2 separate regions of the Homo sapiens genome follow, and region 1 is linked to region 2. The links are contacts of gene promoters, found by promoter capture Hi-C in blood cells and fetal thymus (Javierre and others, 2016). All regions are on one chromosome and are shown on one strand. The core of a region is centred on a gene start or on the middle of the fragment in contact, and the rest is flanking DNA. Distances in the headings are between cores, read along the strand shown. Region 1 overlaps HNRNPDL (heterogeneous nuclear ribonucleoprotein D like). Region 2 holds the start of COPS4 (COP9 signalosome subunit 4).

Region 1 (4,341 bases), core at 94-2,593, 610 kb before region 2:
TATTCAGAGGTTCAACTATGCTAGATTAAGGTCTACTAGAAGCATCTCTAGTAACCCAAGTAAAATGCTATCACAAACACCAATTTCTAATAAGTTTATTACAAGAACATAAATTGATCTGTGCATATGATCTTTAATTTATATCCCAGATTTAAAAGTTCTTGTTTTGGTTTGTAGATTTCACTATTAGCTATAAAAAGAAAAAGCAAGCATTAAATCTTAAAAGAATGAACACTTAAAATGAGGCTCCACAATTGAAATACAACACTAAACAGAAGACCAAAATGATTAAGCTGTAAAAAGGCATTTATGTACTTTAACTCCTGTAAAAAACCATTTAAGTTAAGTTTAGACACTTAATCTCCAAAAAGATTAAAAATGAAGCCAAAGTCTGAAGTTTTCCACTTTAATCTTTACGCTGGTACATGAAGTTGGAAGAGACCATACCACAGGACAGCGTTTTCTGGTGTATGCCTTGCGCTCTGCCCGCAACGTGCGACCCCCAGAGATAGACGTGGTCAGGGTGACACACGGCCTGCAATGAAGTTCCCGCTGGCGGGTACAAACAAGGTATAATGTCAGAGTTAGAAGACAACATTCTTGTTTTCCTTAAGTTGTACCCATTTCAGTACTTTACCTGTTAATAGTTCTAAAATGTTTAATTATTCCTCTAGACCACCTGGTACACAAAAGCAAACAGAAAAACTCTTAAGTTTTTCTGCAATACTAAAGAAAGTGAGATAAGACTTTAAAGTTAAAGATCTATAGACACTTTAGGCAAAACAGGCTCATAAAGCAATTAAAAAATCAACAATTTAGTAAAAACAGGCTACATAGTATTTTGTTTTTACGTTTCATTTGTCTATTGATCTTTAAATTAAATTAGACATTTCTACTGTTTTCCTGTACTCTTATACACACCTGTTTTCTCCAATGTTCTCCTTTAGTATGGCTGGTAATTGTTTTGGTGATTGCCACCCCCTCGAGATGCCTTGCCATAAGTGCTCTGTTGGCCTATTTTGAAAACACAGAATTCTCATTAAGATAGTTTTCTACAAAACTTTCTTTACAAACACAAACTATTAAATCTACAAATCTTTGCATGCTAAATAAAAAGTATTAAGATATTTTAGCACCCATTAGATGCTACTCATAAATCATACATCCTAGTTCATTTATAACCACCAGTCTATGTTAGTATAATCATCCTATGATTGTAACATGCCTCAAACACTTAACTCCGAACACTTTAATGGAAAGCCCATACACACAATTTCAGAACAGGATTGTATGTTAACAATGAATTTTAATACCACTGCTTTATAAAATTAAGTTAAATATTCTTACCACTGTAGTCTGCATATCCCTGTCCATATCCATAGTTCCCATAGTTATACCCAGTATAATCATATCCGCCATAGCCACTATAGTTTTGATCACCACCATAGGCACTATTGTAATTTCCATATCCTTGATCATAATAGTTATTAAATCCTTGGTTCCAGTTTTGGCCCTGACCTGAAACAATGCACAATGATTGTTAGGAAACAACTTCTGACCCCCAATTCTAACATAAAATGATGCGTTCTTGTCTCTCACTCTGCAAATCTTAAAGGGCAGAATGGACATATATATTGCTATCTGCTTGAAAAACTATTTTTCCAGCTGTTATAAAAAAGGAGGCAGAAAGTCCAATTGTGCCAGTATCAAACTTCCTAAACTTAATGGAAAATCATTCAATTTTCCATTAAAGCCGAAGACAGGTACACTGTTCTGTTTAAAACAAGGACTCCTGCCCAAGAAAACCTATCACACCACGGTGTATCATGTAATGGTACACTTTTCCTATCAGTGATGACACTAATTGTCAAAGTGGCCACACTTTTAACAGTTTTTTGAAACCAGTGAGCTCACAACAAAAAACCACCACACACAACCTCCACTAAGCTGAACAGTCCCCCCTCCGCTGGAATGGTTTTAAGTTTAAAGTTTTGCTTTGGTACAGGACTACTCATATTCAGCAGTATACAGCTTAAATAAACCACGGAGTCATATTTCAAGAATTAAGTCTCACCTCGGCCACGACCCCTCGTACCACCTCGTCCACCAGCTGCAGCACCTCTTCCACCTTTTTGTTGTTGCTGTTGCTGCCTATATACCTCTTTGGGTTGTGCAACTTTGATTTCACACTATAAACAAAAAACATGAAAGTATAATTTTTACCGAAGTTCTAAAATTAAATCATTTTATTTTTCTCCACATCAAGAAATTATTTCAATTATTTAAATTTTCATTTAAAGTGCTTAAATGGCTTTACCTTCCCAGAACCAATTTGATGGTATCTGCTTTCTAACAATTTTTTTACTGGCTCTTCATCAGTATATGTGATAAAACAAAATCCTCTTCTTTCATTTGTTTTTGTATCCATGGGAAGTTCAATATTTTCAATCTGAAATCGAGATGCACACTCAACGTCATCCCATAATTGTAAAACGTTACAGTGTCAGAATGCCAAAGGCCTTTTCAGGCTTCAACTTAAACATGTTATTCTTATCGGGTGACTTCTATACAGACATCACTGCTTTATGATCAACATCAGCCTACAGTGATTTGTTGTATATTTGAAGCATTGAGAGAAATTAATATTATTTTGTACCCAAAGATGCCACTAGTTAACAAGTCCAAACACTGACCACATTTAAGTGCCCATGTTTTAGCTAAATTAGATAGTTGGGTTTCCATCAGAGCAGCAATGAAATCAAGGTACAGTCACTGGAAGCGACTTGAGCAGTCATTTAATTCTACTCTTACAGGAAACATGAATCTGCCCTGCATAAATCGGACAAGGATTGAACATTTTATAAACACATCAAGCTTAACATGTGTAAACATAATCACACACCTCTCCAAAGGCTCCAAAATATTCTTTAATTTGTTCTTCAGAAGTATCCGGGCTCAATCCACCCACAAAAACCTTTTTGGGAGGTTCTTTCCCTTTTAAAGCTTTGGCCCTTTTGGGATCTATCAATTTGCCATCCAGTTTGTGTTCTTTCAGTTCCAAAACCTACAAGACAGATTTATTTAATCTGACAGCACCATATAACCCCCAGAAAAATTTGCAAAACACCACAAAAGCAGCACAATGCAAAACATAGTTCCTACCTTATCAACACTAGCAGCATCTTTGAAAAGCACAAATCCAAATCCTCTTGATCTCCCAGTGACTGGATCTGTTTTAATTGTGCAGTCTACAACTTCCCCAAATCGAGACAAGTACTCTGTCAGATCTTTTTTGCTTGTATCCCAGCTCAAGCCTCCAATAAACATTTTACTAGAAATAAAAGTGTTTTTAAAAAAAATTAACAATAACTCAAATGATCCTTCAGTTCTGGAATTAAATCGTGAAATAAAAACAGGGACATTTACCCCCTAAGTGTAGGCAATTTAATTCATGTTTACATTTAATCTATGTCACACAAAAATCCCAATATCCCAACGAAGTTACTCAAACCAGCGGACAGCTCACTGTCCGCACTACATAAAGCAAAGCTCAAAAGAGACCAATAAAATACAGTAAAGGTTCTGCCCAGATTCCTTTAGGTAGAAGGCACAACTTCCTAGATGAATCCCTCACATCTTATCTTACTTAGGTCCATCTTCGTTCTCAGCTGTCAAGCCAACGTTCCACCCAGAGAACTCATCAATCATAACACGTTTTGTGAATCTGGGTACCAGTCGCCTGCTTGTGCCCCAACTCAGTCCTCTAAAACTCTTCCCAGGAAAACCGCGCCGAGTGGTAACAGAGACACAATGAAGAGGCGGCGGCAGCTGCAGCGTGCAGCGCTGGGAGGCCGGCCCCTCCCCCCCGGGTCCCACGCGGCGCCTGCGCGCTCGGGACACAGACGCCGCCGCCCTCCTCCTCCAACCCCTCCGCCCTTCCCCCACTCTTCCCGGGTCTCTCCAGTCACCCCCTCGATCTCTTACTTTCCTCTTCCCTCCAATCTAGTGGGGCCCAGAAGGCACGCGGGGAATCGACTCTGAGAAAGAATGGGGGCAGCGCGCGGCTCACGAGGAACGAAGGGCGCGTGCGGCGCGCTGGGGGAGGGGGAGCGGGGGAAGAAGCGTGCGGTACCCGTCATCCTGCTGATTCTTGCTCGCGTTGATCTTGGATCCCTCTGCGAATTCCTCTATATTGCTGTACTCGTTCATATCCTCCATAGTGACGGAGCTGTCGGCAGGGGGGTGCTGGCGCGCAGTCCGGGTCGCGGCAGCAGCGGCGGCGGAGCGTTGTATGGAGCTGGATTTAAAATGGCGGCGGAAGAGATCCGGGCGCCGCCTGCG
Region 2 (6,132 bases), core at 2,393-4,892:
TTTCTCAGCTTCAGGAGAGAGAGACCAATTCACCTTTTCTCTGTTTTTGTTTTGTCTGGGCCCAGCTAACTGGATGGTGCCTGCCCACACTAAGGGCAGATCTTCTTCACTTAGTCCACTCAGACTCACATGCCAATCTCCTCTGGAAACACCCTCACAGACACACACTAATATAATGCTGTAACAGTTAGTTTTCTTGGTATTCCTTAATCCAATCAAGTTGATACCTAAAATTACCATCAAAGGACATGTGGATATTCAGGTGGTCAGAGGGACATATTGTAGTAGAGACTGCTGATTGTCCCTCTAAACTCATTCTTTCCTATTTCTGGGCACAAGGCTGCCCAACTGGAAATTAAATTTCTAGTCTCATTGGTGGTCATATGATTAAGTTCTTGCCAATGGAACATGATCCGAATTGATGTGGGCAATCTCCTAACTTTCTGATATGGTTTGGCTCTGTACCCCAACTCAAATCTCATGTTGAATTGTAATCCCCAGTGTTGGGGAAGGGACCTGGTAGGAGGTGATTGGATCATGGCGGCAGATTTCCCTCTTGTGTTCTGGTGATAGTGAATGAGATCTCATGAGATGTGGTTGTTTGAAAGTCTGTAGCACCTCCCGCTTTGTGTTCTCTCTCTCTCCTGCCTTCATGTGATGACATACTTTCTTCCCCTTTGCCCTTCCACCATGATTGTAAGTTTTCTCAGGCTTCCCCAGTCATGCCTCCTGTAAGGCTGTGGAACTATGAGTCATTTAAATCTCTTTTCTTTTTTTTTTTGAGACGGAGTCTCGCTCTGTCGCCCAGGCTGGAGTGCGGTGGCACGATGTCGGCTCACTGCAAGCTCCGCCTCCCGGGTTCACGCCATTCTCCTGCCTCAGCCTCCCGAGTAGCTGGGACTACAGGCGCCCGCCACCACGCCTGGCTAATTTTTTTGTATTTTTAGTAGAGACGGGGTTTCATCGTGTTAGCCAGGACGGTCTCGATCTCCTGACCTCGTGATCCACCCGCCTCGGCCTCCCAGAGTGCTGGGATTACAGGCGTGAGCCACCATGCCCGGCCTAAATCTCTTTTCTTTACAAATTGCCCAGTTTCAGGTAGTTCTTTATAGCAGTGTGAGAACAGACTAATATACATTCTTTTTTTATTTATTTTATTTTTGAGATTTCACTCTGCCACCCAGGCTGGAGTGCAGTGGCACGATCTCAGCTCACTGCAGCCTCCGCCTCCTGTGTTCAATCGATTTTCCTGCCTCAGCCTCCTAAGTAGCTGGGACTACAGGCACCCGCCACCACGCCTGGTTAATTTTTTGTGTTTTTAGTAGAGAAAGAGTTTCACCATGTTGAGCAGGCTGGTCTCGAACTCCTGACCTCAGGTGATCCACCTGCCTTGGCCTCCTAAAGTGGTGGTATTACAGGCATGAGCCACCACGCCTGGCTGAGAACAGACTAATACACATTCTTAAAAGGGATTCCTTCTTCAGGTATTCTTCTCTTTCTCTTTCCCAATAGAGGGAATATGCCATTTATCACACATCAAGATGGCAAAAATCCAAAAGTTTGACATCCTTTGTAGTCAAGGCTGTAGGAAGCTGCACCCCTATATATTTCTGGTAGGAAGGCAAAATGATACCATTCCTATAAAATGCAATTTGGCAATATCTACCAAAATTGTATGTCTATCCTTTGCCTCATTTCTGGTAATGTGTTCTACCTGTACATATATAATGTATGCAAAGGTTATTCATCGCATTGATTAAAAATAACATGTCCTATAAGGATTAAATAAACTAAGGCATACTCTCACTGTGTAATATCCTCTAGCTCCAAAAAGAGTGATTTTGAAAGACTGGACAGCTGGTAAGATGTCCAGCTGTCTTAGTCTGTTTTCTGTTGCTTATACCAGAATACCTGAAACTGGGTAATTTATAAAGAAAAGGAATTTATATCTTAGAGTTATGAAGGCCAAGAAGTCTAAGGTCAAGGGGCCACATCTAATGAGACCCTTCTTGCTGGTGGGGACTTGCTAGAGTTCAGAAGCAGCACAGGGTATCACATGGCAAGGGAGTGACCTTCCTAACATGCTAGCTCAGGTCTCTTCCTCTTCTAATAAAGCCACATGTTCTCTCCCATGACAACCCATTAATCCATGAATAGATCAAGGGTTTTGCCCTCATGATCCAATCACCTATTTAAGGCCCACCTCTAAATACTGCCACATTAAAGATGAAGTTTCAACATGAGTTGTTTGTTTTTTTTTTTTTTTTTGAGACGGAATTTCCCTCTTGTTGCCCAGGCTGGAGTGCAGTGGTGCAATCTTGGCTCACCGTAACCTTCGCCTTCCAGCTTCAAGTGATTCTCGTGCCTCAGCCTCCCGAGTAGCTGAGATTACAGGCACGTGCCACCACACCCAGCTAATTTTTGTATTTTTAGTTGAGACGGGGTTTCTCCATGTTGGTCAGGCTGGTCTCGAACTCCCGACCTCAGGTGATCCGTCCACCTCGGCCTCCCAAAGTGCTGGGATTACAGACGTGAGCCACGGCGCCAGCCCTCAACATGAGTTTTGGAGAAGACAATTATTTCAAACCACAGTACCAGGAAAAGTGCAAAAAAAAAAAACCAAGGCAGAACAATTATGTGGTGTTGCTTGTGAGAGGTAAAATTTTATTTTATTAATATTTGCTTGTATTTGCAGAAATTCTATAAGAATACATGAGTATTGAATGTTATACAAACGCAGGCGACCATATAATCTTCCATTGAAATGGAACGGTTTCTAGAATGAAAGGGAGGATGTTATTATTATTATTATTATTTTTTGAGACCGAGTCTCGCTGTGTCTCCCAGGCTGGAGTGCAGTGGCGCGATCTCGGCTCACTGCAAACTCCGCCTCCCGGGTTCACGCCATTCTCCTGCCTCAGCCTCCCGAGTTGCTGGGACTACAGGGGTGCACCACCTACGCCCGGCTAATTTTTTTGTATTTTTAGTAGAGAACGGGGTTTCACCGTGTTAGCCAGGATGGCCTCGATCTCTTGACCTCGTGATCCGCCCGCCTCGGCTGCCCAAAGTGCTGGGATTACAGGCGTGAGCCACCGCGCCCGGCCGAAAGGGGGGATATTAATCATTACTCCAGGACGACAGAGGGAAAATCGCTTTGTACTGGACAAACTGGAATGTCTGACCAACCATTATAAAGTGCACGGAGTGGGAGGAGGAATAGGGACATTTTAATTGTATTTCTAAAAAGTATCTTCTGTGGTGAATCGGAAACAAAACTCATTCTTTACCACAGGCAGTTTAAGCGCTGCCTGAAAGATCGAAGGACGGTAAACCACAGACGTGAGAAACGGAACTTTGCGAAAACGCAGTCGTTTTATGTACCGGCTACTCATTGGAGTTACACCAGAGACTCACTACTGGAGTTCATCAGCCAATCCAAAGTCCAAGCGTGAGAGCCAGAGCCTGTAGGAGAGACCTGGGCAGGCCTCAGACCTGAGGAGTGGAGCTCCGCATCACTCAACCCTGGGGGCGGAGCTAGCCCAGGCTCCCACACCCGACGCTCTGGCCCACACAGACGCTACTCTGTAGCATCTCAGGTTCCCTCTGGCTGCACTCTGGAGGACCACACTCGTTTTCTTTTTGGCTGCCAGAGGCCCCCGCATCCACCGCTGAGCTGGGAGAAAGATGGCGGCAGCCGTGCGACAGGATTTGGCCCAGCTCATGAATTCGAGCGGCTCTCATAAAGATCTGGCTGGCAAGTGAGTATTTCCCAGGAACGCGGGAGTACAGAGGTGGGGAAAGAAAGCCACAGCCTTAATCTCCTTAGGTTGGCCACGGCTCTTGGGCGTGAAGCTAGGAGCCGGCCTGACGTCCAAGGGGGCGGGCCTGAGGTCGGCTGGGGAGGCAAATGTTGGGAGAAGCAGAAAGCTGGAGGGGACCTTGTGCAGGGGCCTTCGAGGCTATAGACTTGAAATGATTGTCAGCTTGTTCAGTTCTTGATAGAATCTTTCTGGTCCCTTAGGATTTTGGAACAGCGGTCTGAGAGACGACTGCTACCCTGGCCTTAGTAGCCTTCCCTGGTACCTCTTCCCATCGCTGGCCGGCCTCACACCGAATCTGGCCTCTCTTTGGACCTTCCTCCTCTTTTTTTTTGATTCAGAGAAATGTATATTCTGGGGCCTTGATGCTGCGTTTTTCGGGGAGATGGCTTCTTGGGGCTGGCTGAGGTTGAGGCGGTATGGCCGCTGTCATGTCGTCCAGACCATTCAGACTGTCTTCTGTGGGTCCTTGTGTTTCGGGTATTTTCTCTGCCACCAACTCTGATGGCACATAGGCGGAATGTGCTCATATCGTGGGTCAGGATGTCTACAGTAGTGATGTTTGCAGGAATCTGAATTTTGTCGAAATTTATATAGAATGCTTAGGTTCACTCCAAGTTAAAATGTGTGACGTGCCTGTTCTGCAAGCAGTTGTCAACAGTATTAAGCATAGGTAGGTAGACGTATATTGTTCATTTTCTCTTTGTAGATGTCACAGCATTTCTCTTTTGTAATGAACATGCTTTCTGTTTAAAGTATGCCTCTCTAGGCCGGGTGCAGTGGCTCACGCCTGTAATCCCAGCACTTTGAGAGGCTGAGATCACTTGAGGCCTGAGAGATCTGAGAGGGAGGATCACTTGAGGGCAGGAGTTCTAGACCAGCCTGGGCAACATAGTGAGACCCCCCCCCCCGCCGCCACCCGTCTCCGTAAATAAATAAGTAAATAAAGTATGCCTCTCAAGTTGATCTTAATGTTTACATCCTGACAGCTGAAATCACTTTGATGTATATTAATGGGATACACCTGTTCTAACCTGGTCATTGAAATTCTGACTGTTTTAAGTAGGCTAGGCTGCCTTTTCTCTGGTGGCAAACGTAATCTACTTTTATCAGTGGGAAATTCAGCCGTATATTTTGGGCTTAACTACTTTGTGCTGCATTTTCCCACTCAGGAAAATGAAGATAATAATAGGACTTATTCTTGTCTGACATTATCTGAGGACAAGATGAGTATGTGTGTGCATATATACTTACCACACTTATATCACGTAGAACAGTACCTGACATATAGAAAGTGCGGTAAGATTGTTGTTGTTACTATTAAGCTGTCAGTAAATATATATTCACTTATTGTATGGGTTGGAAATAAGTTAAATATGTCTTCATGGCTCAATCCTTTCTGCTTGTAATTTTTATATGGATGAAAGTAAAATCAGCTTATATTTTTCCCCATGCTTCCTTTACTTTTTATTTTGTTAAAGAAGAATAAGTGCATTAGTTATCAAAAGAAATAGAGCTTTGCAAGTATTTGCAGAATTCTGAAACTTAAGTATTTACTTCTTCAGGTCTGAATTGGAGATAAACAATAGTACTTAAAGCGTGCTTCAGTTATCTGTTGCTTTGTAACAAACCAAAAACTTAACCAGTGTAAAACAACTATGATTTCTCAGGATTCTATGGGTTGACTGGACTGCTTTGCTGGTCTTGTCTGGGCTCACTCATGCAGATATAGTCAGCTGGCAACACACCTGGGGCGGGACTCACATGCATATCTTGCTCTTGCCTGGATCTCTCTCTCTCTCTGCACAGTCTCTCATTCAGTAGTTTAGCTTGGGCTTTCTTAGGTGCCTATGAGAGGGGAAGTCGCAAGACCTCTTAAGGATAGCCTAGGAAGTCTCACGTCAGTTCTCTAGTACTGGTCAAAGTAAATCAGAAGACCAGCCCAGATTCAAGGGGAGGGGAAATGGAGCTTACTACTACCTCTTTAGTGGCAAAGTTACATTGCAAAGGAGCCTGGACAGAGGGAGACACGATTCATTGGAAGCCGTTACTGTAGCAGTCTACCACATGGTGTTATTGTGAAGATTAAATGAAATAATGTGCTTGATAACTGATAGCCAGTGCAGTCTTAGCCATAACTCCTTCAGAGCTGCTTTCTGAGAAAAGTCTTGGCCTTGCCTGCATTTCCTATGTGGGCAAGAATGTAGCAGGATATTTATCCTTACAACAACATCAGTTCTACCAGCTATATGCTTTAAGAGAAATACCCTTGAAATATATCAGTGTGTTTTTTTTTAATGTATTTTTTCTTGTA

Evidence for each region. The method cuts DNA at HindIII sites, captures the fragments that hold promoters and counts their contacts. A CHiCAGO score of 5 or more calls a contact.
Region 1: a fragment that was not itself captured here is called in contact with the fragment with the promoter of COPS4 in region 2 in 1 of 17 cell types (total CD8 T cells); the score reaches 5.2 in total CD8 T cells.

The regions. Positions count from the first base shown.
Region 1 is chr4:82,425,116-82,429,456 of GRCh38, forward strand. HNRNPDL (heterogeneous nuclear ribonucleoprotein D like) reads right to left here. Exons shown (of 8, transcript NM_031372.4): 1 at 4,133-4,341; 2 at 3,163-3,331; 3 at 2,903-3,064; 4 at 2,318-2,449; 5 at 2,075-2,189; 6 at 1,348-1,518; 7 at 922-1,014. The coding sequence ends at 944. Among named protein-coding and RNA genes, the nearest start is that of HNRNPDL, 3.2 kb to the right of the region's middle. RefSeq lists silencers at 3,796-3,965, 4,276-4,341 and enhancers at 4,011-4,341, 4,186-4,245. The HindIII fragment of the contact is 3,058 bases long and covers 1-2,872 here.
Region 2 is chr4:83,031,541-83,037,672 of GRCh38, forward strand. COPS4 (COP9 signalosome subunit 4) reads left to right here and starts at 3,643. Exons shown (of 10, transcript NM_016129.3): 1 at 3,643-3,758. The coding sequence starts at 3,685. RefSeq lists enhancers at 3,163-3,282, 3,356-3,650, 3,413-3,762, 3,863-3,912, 3,953-4,012 and 2 more. The HindIII fragment of the contact is 6,632 bases long and covers 1-6,132 here.